5 separate regions of the Homo sapiens genome follow, and all the other regions are linked to region 1. The links are contacts of gene promoters, found by promoter capture Hi-C in blood cells and fetal thymus (Javierre and others, 2016). All regions are on one chromosome and are shown on one strand. The core of a region is centred on a gene start or on the middle of the fragment in contact, and the rest is flanking DNA. Distances in the headings are between cores, read along the strand shown. Region 1 holds the start of ATG5 (autophagy related 5). Region 2 has its middle 23 kb from the start of CD24. Region 3 has its middle 99 kb from the start of LINC02836. Region 4 has its middle 150 kb from the start of LINC02836. Region 5 has its middle 170 kb from the start of LINC02836.

Evidence for each region. The method cuts DNA at HindIII sites, captures the fragments that hold promoters and counts their contacts. A CHiCAGO score of 5 or more calls a contact.
Region 2: a fragment that was not itself captured here is called in contact with the fragment with the promoter of ATG5 in region 1 in 8 of 17 cell types (neutrophils, M0 macrophages, M1 macrophages and 5 more); the score reaches 12.6 in neutrophils.
Region 3: a fragment that was not itself captured here is called in contact with the fragment with the promoter of ATG5 in region 1 in 1 of 17 cell types (activated CD4 T cells); the score reaches 5.4 in activated CD4 T cells.
Region 4: a fragment that was not itself captured here is called in contact with the fragment with the promoter of ATG5 in region 1 in 1 of 17 cell types (neutrophils); the score reaches 5.1 in neutrophils.
Region 5: a fragment that was not itself captured here is called in contact with the fragment with the promoter of ATG5 in region 1 in 1 of 17 cell types (neutrophils); the score reaches 5.8 in neutrophils.

What each region holds. Positions count from the first base shown.
Region 1 is chr6:106,324,323-106,327,165 of GRCh38, reverse strand. ATG5 (autophagy related 5) reads left to right here and starts at 1,406. Exons shown (of 8, transcript NM_004849.4): 1 at 1,406-1,640. RefSeq lists enhancers at 1,207-1,526, 1,547-1,596. The HindIII fragment of the contact is 6,577 bases long and covers 25-2,843 here.
Region 2 is chr6:106,996,262-106,999,104 of GRCh38, reverse strand. No RefSeq gene overlaps it. Among named protein-coding and RNA genes, the nearest start is that of CD24, 23 kb to the right of the region's middle. The HindIII fragment of the contact is 1,264 bases long and covers 862-2,125 here.
Region 3 is chr6:105,729,791-105,732,633 of GRCh38, reverse strand. No RefSeq gene overlaps it. Among named protein-coding and RNA genes, the nearest start is that of LINC02836, 99 kb to the right of the region's middle. The HindIII fragment of the contact is 443 bases long and covers 1,241-1,683 here.
Region 4 is chr6:105,779,291-105,782,133 of GRCh38, reverse strand. No RefSeq gene overlaps it. Among named protein-coding and RNA genes, the nearest start is that of LINC02836, 150 kb to the right of the region's middle. RefSeq lists a silencer at 1,434-1,634. The HindIII fragment of the contact is 935 bases long and covers 880-1,814 here.
Region 5 is chr6:105,798,383-105,801,225 of GRCh38, reverse strand. No RefSeq gene overlaps it. Among named protein-coding and RNA genes, the nearest start is that of LINC02836, 170 kb to the right of the region's middle. The HindIII fragment of the contact is 1,781 bases long and covers 503-2,283 here.

The DNA.
Region 1 (2,843 bases), core at 157-2,656:
CAATGCACCTTAATCCCACAAGCTTTCTTACAGAGGCTAATAGCTGTTTACTGGGGACACTGTAGTGAGGATTTCTGCATTGAGTAGGTGAAGAGGACCATAACTGTGGCTTTCAAACTTTTCTGACTGCTACCCTTACTAAGAAATGTATTTCACATTCCTATCCAGTGTACACCACATACATACTGAAGTAAAAATTTTGGGACACAATATTTACCCTTTACATGTGTGAAGCATGCTGATATTTTCTATTTTATTTCATTTAAAAAGATGCTGGGCATGCTTCCCTAACTTGATTTAGATACCCACTAATGTACTGTAATTTACCATTTGAAAATCATTGTACTTAGTCCAACTCCAAGAAGATTTTTCTTTTTAAAAGAATCCTGTGGCTACTACTAGAATTTTCCTTATGTTCCCAATTATCAAGAACCTGTTTTGAGTCTCAGCACAGTACTTACTTAACATGCATGGCGTTAAGGCACGTGTAATTAAGAGAAAAACCTTAAATGCCTGCTAAGACTTCTGGATAGAGCCAATTCAAAGATTCTTTATTAGTAAGTTTACCAATTATTACTATTTTTTTTTTGAGACGGAGTCTCGCTCTTTCGCCCAGGCGGGACTGCGGTGGCCCTATCTTGGCTCACTGCAAGCTCCACCTCCCGGGTTCACGCCATTCTCCTGCCTCAGACTCTCCAGTAGCTGGGACTACAGAAGCCCGCCACCGCGCCCGGCTAATTTTTTTTGTATTTTTAGTAGAGACGGGGTTTCACCGTGTTAGCCATGATGGTCTCGATCTCCTGACCTCGTGATCCGCCCGCCTCGGCCTCCCAAGGTGCTGGGATTACAGGCGTGAGCCACCGCGCCCGGCCCCAATTATTTTTACAAAGAGTAAGATAAAGATATGTACTCTTGGATGGGTGGGAGGGTTCAGTGCTCATATAGTCTTCTGTTAAATTAGGTTATTAATGCCTGCGGTGGTTCCAACAAAGTAGAGAAGAAGATCAAATAAGAAAATGGATGGGAAAGTACTTTGAAAACTAATGTTTTATTAATACTGTTGTGTGATGCCAGGAAGAAAGGGATGTTGCGATCAAGCTCTAGGGAGGCAGTGTTTCAGTATTTTAAAAACTGTTTTTGTGGAACTGTTAAGTTAACCTCCCCAAGCCCCAATAACTACGCTTTGACGCAAGATTCTCAGAAGAGGGTAGAAGCTATGAACTTGGAGAGGTTTGGTCGCGAGTTCAAGCGTACTGCCCCGTTGGCGCATGCTCAAGAGCGACTCGGGCCTCCTTGCTGGGTTAGGCAGAACACGGAGGGCGGAGTTCGGACCACGTGGGGTCTCGTGACGTCATCTCCGGGCGCCGAGGGTGACTGGACTTGTGGTGCGCTGCCAGGGCTCCGCAGCGTTGCCGGTTGTATTCGCTGGATACCAGAGGGCGGAAGTGCAGCAGGGTTCAGCTCCGACCTCCGCGCCGGTGCTTTTTGCGGCTGCGCGGGCTTCCTGGAGTCCTGCTACCGCGTCCCCGCAGGACAGTGTGTCAGGCGGGCAGCTTGCCCCGCCGCCCCACCGGAGCGCGGAATCTGGGCGTCCCCACCAGTGCGGGGAGCCGGAAGGAGGAGCCATAGCTTGGAGTAGGGTACGTGTGTGTGTCCACCTTGTGTGAGGAAATTCCTAGAGGAGGAGGGCTGGGGAGGGGCCAGGTAGGTGTGGTAGGAAGGAGGGGTGAGTAGTTGCCTGGAGGAGCGCCCGCCCGGCCGCGATGGCGGGTGAAGGTGGTTCCTCCGGGCAAGGTGGAGTTGGCGAGACGCCGGCCCGGAGCCCTGGGGCCGGTTGGCGGGTGTGGCCTGCGGGGTCCCTCTTGGGGTACATGTCTGTTGCTTACTAAGGTAGGAAAGCGAGAGTCTAGTCGCAGGCTCTAGAGTTCAGTTCAGGACCTGAATTGTTTGTGGAACACAGTTATTTAAACCTTTATTGCACAGTGCAGTGTGAGTCTGTCCAAACTCGGTGGGTATGTCCTCCAAGCAATTTATCTATTTACGATATTCCCTGTCTCAATAACAATATTTAGTGCTACCAAAGACATTTTCTGTTGGCAAGACACTTTTACATACTTCATTTGTACTTTGGATTATTTTAAAATTATCCTGAACTTGAGGAACCTAGGAAACTATTGGTTCTAGATTTTTCTGAGGGGTGAGGAGGTACAGCCTGTCTTGAGCAATCAGAACCCGGAGACTTACCAGACAGTAGCTGAACTTCCAAAGCCTTCCAGAATTGGCTTGTTAAATTTCTGAGACCTTGAAACTGGATACTTGGCTCTGAACTGAACTATTTGTGATTTCCATAGAGGGAGTTTCTGGTTGAATTTTGAATTTGAAAATAACGATGTTGTGCTCAGGGTAGTAATTGAGAGGTATTTTACACCAGATTTAAGCCTGTGCTTTTATCTTCAAAGATATGCTACTTAAAATTGGGGGAAAGTGTACAGAATGGAACTGTATGGATATGGATTTTTAGAATAGTGCACACACCTCAAGTGTGTATTTATTTCATTAATTTCCCCCAAACTGAGTACCTCCTATGTGTTAGGCACTGGACAAAACAGTAAACAAAATAGTAAACAAAAGAATAAAAATCCCTGCCATCATGAAGTTCCACTTTGGGGATGGGGTGAGAAGACATTGATACAAAAATTAAGGTACAGTCTTTCCTGTCCCTCGGCATCTGTGGGAGATTGGTTCCAGGACCTCCCTTGGATACCAAAGTCCTCAAATGCTCAAGTCCCTGATATAAAATGGTGTAGTGTTTGCAGATAACCTATGCACATCCTCCTATCTTT
Region 2 (2,843 bases), core at 244-2,743, 670 kb before region 1:
GGATTACAGGCACTTGCATCCACACTGGCTAATGTTTGTATTTAGTAGAGACAGGGTTTCCCCATGTTGGCCAGGCTGGTCTCAAACTCCTGACCTCAGGTGATCTGTCCGCCTCGGCCTCTGAAAGTGCTGGGATTGCAGGGGTGAGCCACCGAACCAGGTGGAGCTTTTAACTATTCTTCTGACAGCAGCCCTGAGAGATTGCCTGGGAGACTTTATCTGCATAATAAGACAACATTGATGGTCTGGGCGGTGGCTCATGTGTGTGTGTAATCCCAGCACTTTGGGAGACTGAGGCAGGTGGATCACCTGAGGTCAGGAGTTTGAGACCAGCCTGACCAACATGGTGAAACCCCGTCTCTACTAAAAATACAAACATTAGCCGGGCGTTGTGGTGCGCACCTGTAGTCCTAGCTACTGGGGAGGCTGAGGCAGGAGAATTGCTTGAACCCGGGAGGTGGAGGTTGCAGTGAGCCAAGATCATGCCACTGCACTCCAGCCTGGGTGACAGAGTGAGACTCTGTCTCAAAAAAAAAAAAAAAAAAAAAGAACACTTGTTCACAGTAATAGTCCACCCCTCACCTTCCTGCCGCCTTCCCCAGTGCTCAAAGGAACTTTGTCCCCAGCCATCGTTCTTTGGCTCATTCATTTCCTTTGGAAATCATTTACTCCTACAACCCCTGTCTCCCTTTCCCCATGGAGAAGAATATAAGCAGCCGGGCCTCATCGGGTTACTGGGTAATCATAGTCTTGTGATTTTCTTCTATGCACATTAAGTAAATTTCGTATGCCTTTTTCTCCTGTGTATCTGCATTTCATCAGTTTATGCTCTGCAAACCTTCAGTGGGCAGAGAGAAAGCTTTCCCTCTGCCCCCAGTGTGGCAACAGGCCTGACTGGGGCAATGCTGCTGCCTTGCTTTTGACGCCCCCCACACACGACCGCGTCCCCCTTTCTGCTCTGTGGAACGCCTCCAGCCCCTGCTGAGGCTGGCTTGCCCATGGCAGAATGTCACCTCAGGTTGGGGGCCTTTCAAAATGCACCCCAGAGAGCTCTCCTGGGAGCCCACGTCTGGAACGTAGAGCTGAGTGTCTCTGGCTGACGTTGGAGGATGGGCAGGCTGCCCATGATGCAGCCCCTTTCCTGCTCTGGCACAGCCTTGACCTTTAAATTTCTCATTCTTTTTTCTTCTTCCACTAAACTCTAAGAGATAAGTGTTTGTCTCTCCCGTTATTCCCCTAAGAGCACCTCTCACTGGACTGGGGTGAGGAGAAAGCGCCTTTGCTCTGCAGTTCCTGCAGGGGGCGCTTGGCACCTCACTTTGGAACCTGAGAACTTGTTTTGTTGAAGGCCTTTGAGCTTCGGTTGAAATGGAGACAGAAAGGACTTCCATGTTCACATCCTGTTACACTCTCCAGCATAAATATGATCATTTTCATTTTACAGGAGGCTCAGAAAGGCAAGTCTGTGGTGGAAGTGGGTGAGCTGAAATCTGAGCTCAGGTCTGCTTGATCCTGTAGGTTACAGATGAGACAGAAATGATATGCCCTGTTGTACCCAGGGTGGCCACATCTGAGGCTCTAAGACAAATAAAAAATTACCACCATAGTGGAAAGATTAAATTCTCATGTACAACCAAATCAAAGTCTTCATATACAGTTAGAATAAAACACAAATTTCAGAAGAATGACCCACATACGTGTCGGTTTATTAGTGAGTGAAGATGTGTTTTAGAAACTGGTTATATAAATCAAAAAACTACCATCGAAGGGCTCTAAGATTAGCCAGGAGGCTTAATAGTATCCTAATTTAAGAGTTACTTGAAGATATTTTCTAAGATTGCTGTTTCTGTTGAGATATAAAATGGCTCTTAGCCTAGGATGTTAATAAATTCAAGATAAAGTGAGTAGGCGGAGTTAGAGTAAAAGGTGGCCTTCCTCTCATTGTGCTTGGATTCTGGTGGTTCCTGTGTAGAAATTCATTTGCTGAGGACTTATTATGTACTAGGCACTTTACTAGGTACTGGGGAAAGGAAGATGAACATGATGTGGTTCCTTTCTTTAAGGAGCTCAGCTGGTGAGGAAAAAGCTGCAATCCCTGTTACACGTACAATGACAGAGGAAAGCTTGGGGACTTGGGGGATGCAGGGGTGGACACTTCAGAAAGGCCCTAACCAAGGCTGAAGGGTAAGGGATGGCTTTCCAAGGAGATGACACTAATCTGGGTCCTGAGAAATGCATAGAAATCATCCAAGCAAAGAAAGACCTTGGCTTGCGTTCTTCCTTGTGTTGTGCTGGGCCCCCAAACAGGCAAACTGGGAAGGCACAGTCACCGAGAGACCGAAGAAAAGACCTGAAGACAGTGGGTAAGACATAGAGTTTAGGGCGGGCATGGTGGCTCACACCTGTAATCCCAGCACTTTGGGAGGCTGAGAGGGGCAGATCACCTGAGATCGGGAGTTTGAGACCAGCCTGATCAACATGGAGAAACCTGGTCTCTACTAAAAATACAATATGAGCTGGGCATGGTGGCGCACGCCTGTAATCCCAGCTACTCAGGGGGCTGAGGTAGGAGAATCACTTGAACCCAGGAGGCAGAGGTTGCAGTGAGCCAAGATTGTGCCATTGCACTGCAGCCTGGGCAACAATAGTGAAACTCCATCTCAAAAAAAAAAAAAAAAAAAAAGACAGAGTTTATTCAGGGGACTTATGTATGGAGTGTCCAAGAGTGGAAGGCTGGACAGGAGTTCCACTGCCTTTTGTGGAAAGCATGCAGGTTAGTAGGAACTCCCACACAGCAACCTCTACTTAGCAACCTCCACCTAGCTTAAAACAAAGGCCATTGA
Region 3 (2,843 bases), core at 213-2,712, 590 kb after region 1:
TAAGTAGTAACAATTTTTCAACTTTCTTTTTCTTTTTCCCCAACAAATATTCTAACCATCCCCACAAGGAAATTATAATTATTATAATAATAAATCTCCAAACAATTCACCAAGACAAGAATGCACATACCAAAAAGGATCTGGAGCTGGAATTAGAAAGAAACAAAATGGGGAGAGCTGTCTGAAGGTGAAACCTTCCTTTCCCATCAACTGTGTTTGTTTCCCTAATGTATAATTTATTCCTGTTGTTAGTTTTCTTCTCTCCCCAGGTCCTTGAGATTGTGAACATTGTTTCCAGGACTATATTTGTTTCCATAAAATTACCCTCTCATGAAATGATTTGTCAGATTCACAGGTTTGTTATACTTGAATTTTACCTGATGCTGTAAAGCCTGTTCTTTTTTCCCTTTCATCCCTGCTAATTCTAAAGCGAATGTATTCCATGATCTTTAACTCATTTTCTGAAGGCAATCTGAATCCACCCAACCCTCTGAGCATTGAATCTAGGAGTAAATGAGTCTCACATATACTAAATTCGAGTGATGTTAGGTTCACAGGATTCTCAGAGAAGCCTAGTTATCTTCAAGTGAGCCTAGGGACCAGGTCATTCTGAGCCTACTAAAGAGGACACGTGCTTCATTAGGTTAGGCCTGGTTCTGACCCTTACCTTCCCAGTGTCCTCGAATTGACCAGGAGCCAAGCTGGAGCTCCTGGAATCCTTCAACAGAGGAATGAATTAATCTGGCATCCAAACTGGAAATGGAAAATTTCTTCAAATTTTGTAACCATGGCCCCAGGGGGTGGGAGGGAGACTGCTGGGTGGAGTAGTGGGAGGCATTGTTTTCTTCTTTCTGAAAAGAGAATTTAAAATATATGCATAATATTTTGAGTTGTCTTTTCCAAATGAAAAAAATATTTTAAGGAAAATACACCCACATTGTAGTATAATTTGATCTGCCCCAAAGTGGGGCACACTGGGGACACTAATTGTGAAAATACAACTTATACACAGAAAGCAACTTTCTAATTATATTGACTTTTAAATGTCTGCAGTTTTAGTTACAAGAGAGTTACAGTAAATCACATTTTAAGGTATTTAAAGTGACTATAGGTTTTGCTTGTTAAGGACAGCCAACTGAAGATCAGAGGCAAGCATCAATATTAAAGTAAATAATGAAGCAATCATCTGACCTTAATATCCCCTATCGTGTCAAACTGATACTTATTTTCAGAAAAAGCTTTGCAAAACAGACGGTAGTGGGGAGAAAACAGTCTGCACGTATTTATCGAGGATCTGTTTTTCTGTGCGGAGGTTTTTTGAACATATGCCATTAACATTTCCTTATTTATTGTTCGCTCTTTTGAACATGTCATTGTACTTTTACTTGCCTTACTTTTTAAATAATCAAGTTGGATTTTTTTTCTGTATTTATGAAGCATTTATATTACTTTCTTGTCAAAATCTGGAATATACTCTTTTTTAAAAAGTTGATATAATAGTCATTTTCTTACTGATTTATAAAATGTATATAAATTAATATAATTAACCTCTATATTTTCCCCTAGTTTATTGTTTTCAAATTTTGTGTATGGTGTTTCTTTTAAGTACAGTGAAAAATGATTTTATAATATTTATCAGCCTTTTTATTTATATTTTTGTCTGGTGTTACACACTGAAAAGCTTTTCTCTCCTTAGACTATGTAGTCCCTTATTTTTTATTCTTGTAAAATTATGGGATTTAAACAATTTATATTTTAGAGACAGGGTCTCATTCTGTCACCCAGGCTGATGTACAGTGGTATGATCATAGCTCCCTGCAGCCTCAAACTCCTGGGCTGAAGCAGTTCCCGTCTCAGTTTCCCAAGTAGCTGTGACTACAAGCACATGCCACCATGCCCCATGCCTGGCTTTTTTTTTTTTTTTTTTAATTTCGTAGACACAGAGGCTCACTATGTTGCCCAGACTGGTCTCAAACTCCTGGTCTCAAGTGATCCTCCTGCCTCAGCCTCCCAAAGTGCTGGATTACAGGCATGAGCCACTGCATATAGCCCTCATTATGGTTTTATATTTTGCGTTTCAATATTTAATCCATCTGGGATTCATTTTGGTACCTTATATATTGTGTCAATTTGATTTTCTGTTTTCCCACAGATTTAGATGGTAGTTTTAACCAGTTGTTGAGTAATTCATTTTTCCTTTGATGATTTGAGATGCTAGCTTATCCTGTATTAATATTTTATATCTTTTTAAGGCTGTTTATGTAAAGTTATTAATGTCCTGGTATGAAATAAAACATTGAGCATTCTTTGATTTCCTCCTTTTCCTTGCTCAGTTGACTTACTACCCTTATTTTTATTATGCTCTAATAATTCTTTACATTATTTACACTCTCTTGACATTTGTATTAGGTTTTATAACTAGGTTTTGAGTTTGTTCTTTTTATTAATTTCTAAGTCAGCTGGTGTATATTTTCACTTCAAAATATCAGAAAAGATAAATGATTTCTGGTCTTTGTTTATCTTTGTATGTCCAAGAATAGGTCTTTCTGTTGTTTATATACATTAGAAATAATAGGAATGAGTAGAGAATTTGAGGACTTTTTGTTGCAGGGGATGACGGGAATGATACCTGGAAAATATCCCTTTTCTGGGAAACAAGATTTTGTTCATCTCCCTACATGTGGCTTGTAGGATTTTTCTTTCCCATTAAAATTCAAAGGTTGGCCAAGTTAAGTCATTTCATTAATTTTACCTCATACTTGATAAACTTTTGAAATCTAAAGATCTGAATCTCCCTTTGGTTGAGGTCAAAGGTTTTCTGTAGTTTATGTTAGCTTTTTGTA
Region 4 (2,843 bases), core at 98-2,597, 540 kb after region 1:
AGGAAAAATAAAAGACATATTATTGTGTGAGACACTTTCTTTGAGGCAACGTGTCTGTTGCGATCAATTATTTCATTTATTCATCATGAGCTGGAGACAGTCATGGACCTTGTTTACAGGAAGTTCTTTAGAAATGAGCTTTCCTAGCTTAACTGAACTTACAGCAAATCGTGTCACTCAGAACTCCACCTGTATTATTTTCTTTCATTTTTACCTGACCAGGTAAAGGGGGATAGGGTGGGGACCCTCTGAAAACCACATGCTTTTCTCAAGAATTTCTGCCGGTCCAAAAACAGATGGCAGAAATGGCATAAACATGCCTTTGGATTGTAGGCAATGTCTTGTGTCTTCTGCACACTCTGTGGCTACTTCTAGTGTAGTGTTGACCCTGTGTGATCTGTTCACCTGTCAGGCTTCTCACTAGATCTTGAGCCCCTTGAAACCTGGGTCCAGGTCTTATTCACCTTTTATACCCTCGGTGTCTAGCATGTTGTTAGAGCTTACTAAATTATAATAGTATTACTTTTTTATGCCCCATCCCATTCTGCCAGAGAACTTAAGAGATTCATACACATCCTTGTTGAATTAACAAATGTTCTTGAATCACATGTACTTTGATACCGAGAAGGCAAAAATCAGTCTAGGCACACCTTGATGAAACGGCAGAGATGACTCACCTCCCAACTGGGGGCGGGAGTGGGTGGGGAGAGAGCATTTGTGGAGTCATAGGATGATGGAGGCCTCTCCGGCAGGAGGCTTTACCGAGATTCCCTGTTATCCCTGTTTGTGTAATTCCCCCTCTGACTTTACATGAACCCAGACAGTTGTCTGGCATCGTCCGTGTCTGTTACACAACCAAAATGTGTTTTCTTGTAAGCTTTTCATTTCCCTTAGCAAACAGGTTTTGGCTTCCATACCTTAAAAAATAAAAATTAGGAGAAGCCTTATGGAAGAGCTATATGCATATATATAGTAAAAATATCGTTACTAAGGACCGGCATGGGGAGCCCCACCATGAAGATGAGGAAATGGGAGCCCAGAGGTAGTCGTCCTGGCTTAGGTCAGCCAGGGTCCCAGCCCCTGAGAGAGAATTGGATGTACCACGTCTGCTTGATCGGCTTGGCCCACTATACCTCATTGTTCTTTGGAGAACTCTTTCCTATTGAACTGAAGATGTGGGATCCCTAGCCAGAAGGAACAGTTCGCTGTGAATCAATTTATCCCATCACTTCGGCCCACAGGGAGAATGCTGGGTGGGATGCCACAGTTCCATGATGGAGCCTCAGCGTCTTCTGCAACAAAGGATGAATTTCAGAGTGACCACAGGAAAACAATACTGCTTTTGTTGTGGAAAATGTCCTCTAATTTTCCTCCTGGTTGTGGTTGCTGCAAAGGCTGTTTGTTCATGCAAGTGTTTATAGCATGCCTTTGCACTTTGTCAGGGGAAACTGGCCTTCCATCCTGCCATCTTGCAACACGACTTCTGAGTGTATTTCACTGATCCTAATAATAGACACTGTGGCAACCACCTGTACTTAAGGTCATTGTCTCATGGGTTTCACTCTAATGCTCTACTTCCTGGTGTCATAGTCAAGCTCTGAATGGGCACACCCCTTCCCAACTACATGAAAATATGTCATTAAGAAAACAAACAAAACAACTGGCTTCTCCATGAAAACCTCATGACTGACACTCCGTGAAGTATAGTGTTGATAAACCTGTTGTTCGTCCTCCCTAAGCGTGAGCTTGGTAGATGTCCACTACCTTAATCACCAGGCAATCTGAAGGAAAGTATTTTCTGTTATCGTTAAGCTTATTCATGAAACGTGGAGTGCGTTTATGCTTACATCACGCCAACTGGATTCAGTCGCAAGGACTGTAATTCAGACAATCCAGTCCTACAGGTCATCGGGACATATTTCTTTCAGGCACGATACCTATTTACACATTTGATACCTGACTTGTAACACACACTATATTCTTGAATAATAGAAACAAAGATGAGGAAAGCCCCAAGCGATACAGCACCGAGAACACTCTGGGCTTCTTGGGTTTGGTCACTATATTCCTTTCCCTTTTATTAGCTTCACCGTCCAAGTTGCTTAATCTCTTTTGGTTTGGTTGGTTCATCTATAGACTGGGGGTTGATAGTAGCATATTACCTACAGCCCACTTGACTGATGATATTTTATCACTGATGATATTTTAAGACTCCTTAAGGTCTCGTTCTTCCCTGCAGGTTTTTTTTAATTGATTCAAATGAAGGGCCCTTTCACTGCCACTGAGATTAAGTACAGTTGAATATAATCGGCCTCCACCTTTATTACCCCCACCTCCCTGCCAGTCCTGCTCCTGTTCAGGAATAAGTCAGGTGGCATTGGATGGTAATATATCATCAATTAAGCATCATCAGGTGAGCTCTCATGTCAAGATTCTTGGGTTCGAAATTTTATCCAATGATCTAAGTTAGATGGGCATAACCAATTCAGAGTGATCTTATCATGATCCAAATTATTTGTGCAGGTTCTTGGAAGTAGCAAGCATCCCTCTTTGTGCTGGGTTCCAACATATAGGAGCAGAAACCTTCAAACCATATTGTCCTTCCTCCTTATGCCTGCTTAGGGTTAAATAATTGTCTGATTGTAAGTTGTTTTCAGCACAGCTGGGCAAGTGGTTTTAAGAGATTTTAGAGATGAAACTTTGAAAACAATAACAACCAAAAGAAATGACTGTCGGGGATATATTTTATGATCATCTGCAAATAGTTACCACATAGAACGTGTCGTTAATAAACTGAATTACCCAACAGTCTTCCTTGCTGGATGTGCTCTGTTTCCTGCATG
Region 5 (2,843 bases), core at 144-2,643, 530 kb after region 1:
AAAAGTCTGCATGGAAAACTGTATATTTGCTTCCTGTTTTTTGGCCTGAGAGTAGTTGGGATGAGCTGTAAAGATAGCAGCTCCCAAACATAATGCCAGAGTTCAGTCTGGATCCTTTAGGTTCCGACCTCCACACAATACTTTCTCTTTCCCTTTCCACCAAATCATTAACTTCTTGAATTAGTTGTTCACAGCCAGTGACTTTTCTCACCTACACTTAACTCCCATGAGTAGGGACAATATTGCATTCATCTTTGTATTGTGACATCTTCTTCCCAGAGGTCAGGACAGGTTTTGCATATGGTAGGTGTTCAAGACTTGTTTGTTGCTGTTACTGCCAGAATATTTCTTGGAAAAATACTTCTCACCTTGACCCTGAAGAGGCTGGATGATGCACGCAGCAAGCAGTGGATTTATAGTTATAAATTTCAAGTATCATTCCCGATCTTAGCACTTACTAGCTATGTGACTTGGGGTTAAATCACTCACTACCTCTTAAGCTTCAGTTTCTTCATCTACCAATGAACAATCCTTTTCCGACAAGATTGTCATGAAGATCAAGTGAGATCAGGCTGTCTAAGTGTTTTAAAGCCCATATAAAACTAAGAGTTTAGTAATGATCAGAGTCAGAACAAAGGAACTGGCATGACCTTAGTGACTATTGTTAACACCCACCACCTTGATCTACTTGTCTTTTCATTTCTGTATCCTTAGCACCTAGCACAGTGCTTTTCAGAGTAGGTTCTCAATAGATTTTTTTTTTAAATGAATGCCCATGTTATTAAAGTCAATTTTCATCTTGCTTAGGTGCTGGCTGGGGGAGTAGAAGTTAAATGGTTCCAAAACATTTCATGTGAATGTGAATGAAGGTGGTGGGTACAGAGATGAAAAGTGTTCCCCTCTTGGGGGGGCCTCAGGAAGCGAGAGTGGTTCTAGAAGCCCCTGAAGCTCCAGGCCTCTATATGGTGTGTCTGCCAAGCTCAGCCTGGCCTATCCCCTGGAGCAGATAGTCCTGATGAGATCTCTTGGTTGTGACTCTGTTACTGGGACACTGATGAGAGGATCAGGAGTGATACTTGGAATGATGCTCTGGGAGGCACACTGAGAAGAGTCGGTTGCTTTTGGAAAGGAGACAAAGAAAGTCAACTAGGCCAGTATTGGCCATAGCCCAGAGTCAGGAGAGTGGAGTTGGGTAGGGAGGAGATGATGATTGGAACACACTGTGGTCATCCTGGGCCATTGCAGCGACCATTGATGTGGGTGTACAGAATCTTCTGGTGTGCTCTTTCAGTTGTATTAACCAAGTAACAAAACACCAACCTCATTATGTGTTCATAAAGAAATCTTTTCACTGAAAGCATTCTTTTGAAAATTAGAACAGTAATTTAACCAACTTGTTTTTGTTTTGACCACCTCATTAAGGAATTATCTAATGTCAAATGGATTTGTAACCTTTGCAGAATAAATAAGGTTTTGATTTTATTACAATACTGTTTCCTACTCTTCCACATCCCTCTGAAAGAAATGGTTAATCAGCAGGAGCATATACTTTTCCTTTGTTCTACTGCAATTTATAGAAAGACTTATAAGGTGGTTTTTCCATGGAGATAGGTTTTTTCTTCCCTTCCTCCACCTACTGCAGAAAGTCATTGCAGGGAAACCTAAGGCTTATGACTTTCTTTGCTTGTAGGCTTTGTGCAGACCTGTTCACAGTCTCTTCAGCCTTAGGACTGTTGGGAGCCTAGAGAGACTGCTGGTGTCCGCTATACTTTGGTGGGATTGTCCTCCCTCAGCCAGCCTCATCTTCAGCTGTCACCTCAGCTGTCACCCACCATGAGGCCTTAGTCTTCCTAGGGTGGCATTTCAGTTGCACCGTGGATATGCTGGACTTCCTCCTTCTGTTGAGCATTTCTCAAAACAAAGCAAGACCTCTGTGGGAGGATGTGGGACAGCCTGAGCCTGGGTTGACAGTAGAACCTGGAACACTGGGAGAGAACACAAACAAGGACATTGCAGCGTGGAGAAAAAACTTGGCAGAAACAATGCAGATCCAATGCCTTGGCTTGGAAGAGGAACAAGGAATCCAATTATAGTACACTCTGTATAGAGAGTTTAAAAAAAGTGCTTTTGTTTTGCTTTAATCCCATAGAAGTAAATGACAGAATATGAACCAGATTGAGAGTGAGTCTTTTGTTCAAGATTTTCCTTTAGATGGTGTCAAGATGGAAAACATCTTTTTGAGCTTGAAGAATGCTCTAATTTGTAGAACAGCTAATTAAAGCTTCTTACAACCTGATTGACCTGTTGTGGTATTGTAAGAGCTAAGGAAAGAATTTACTCCCTACAGGACTGAAGCATCCTTATCCTATATATACTATGTGTCCTGTGTGCTATCCACCCTGGGGGGTGGGCACAATGTTCTAATGACCCTCAAATCCCTAGTTGTAGTTCCTTTCCTATAAGGGATGAGAGTGCAAAGGTACGCAACAGAGTAACAGACAAAAAGCCTGTCACCCACAGCTTGAGAATTGTATTTTGTCCATTTAGACCTATATAATCTATGCATAAGCGGATATATCGATATCACATGTAAATATATATTTATGTGCAAATACATAAGCATCATATATAACATGCAAGTTTTCATTCTGTAATGAGAACAAGTATCAAAGGAGCCCAATTCTTTCAAATATAAGGGGTTTAAATCAGAACACTTAAAACGTTTGATATTACATTCAGATTTTACATCAGTCGTGAAGAATCTGCTTTTCTCTCAAATTGTAATGACTGACTAGCATAACCCCTACCCTATGATCTTTCCTTGGGGCTTAACAATTAAGTGA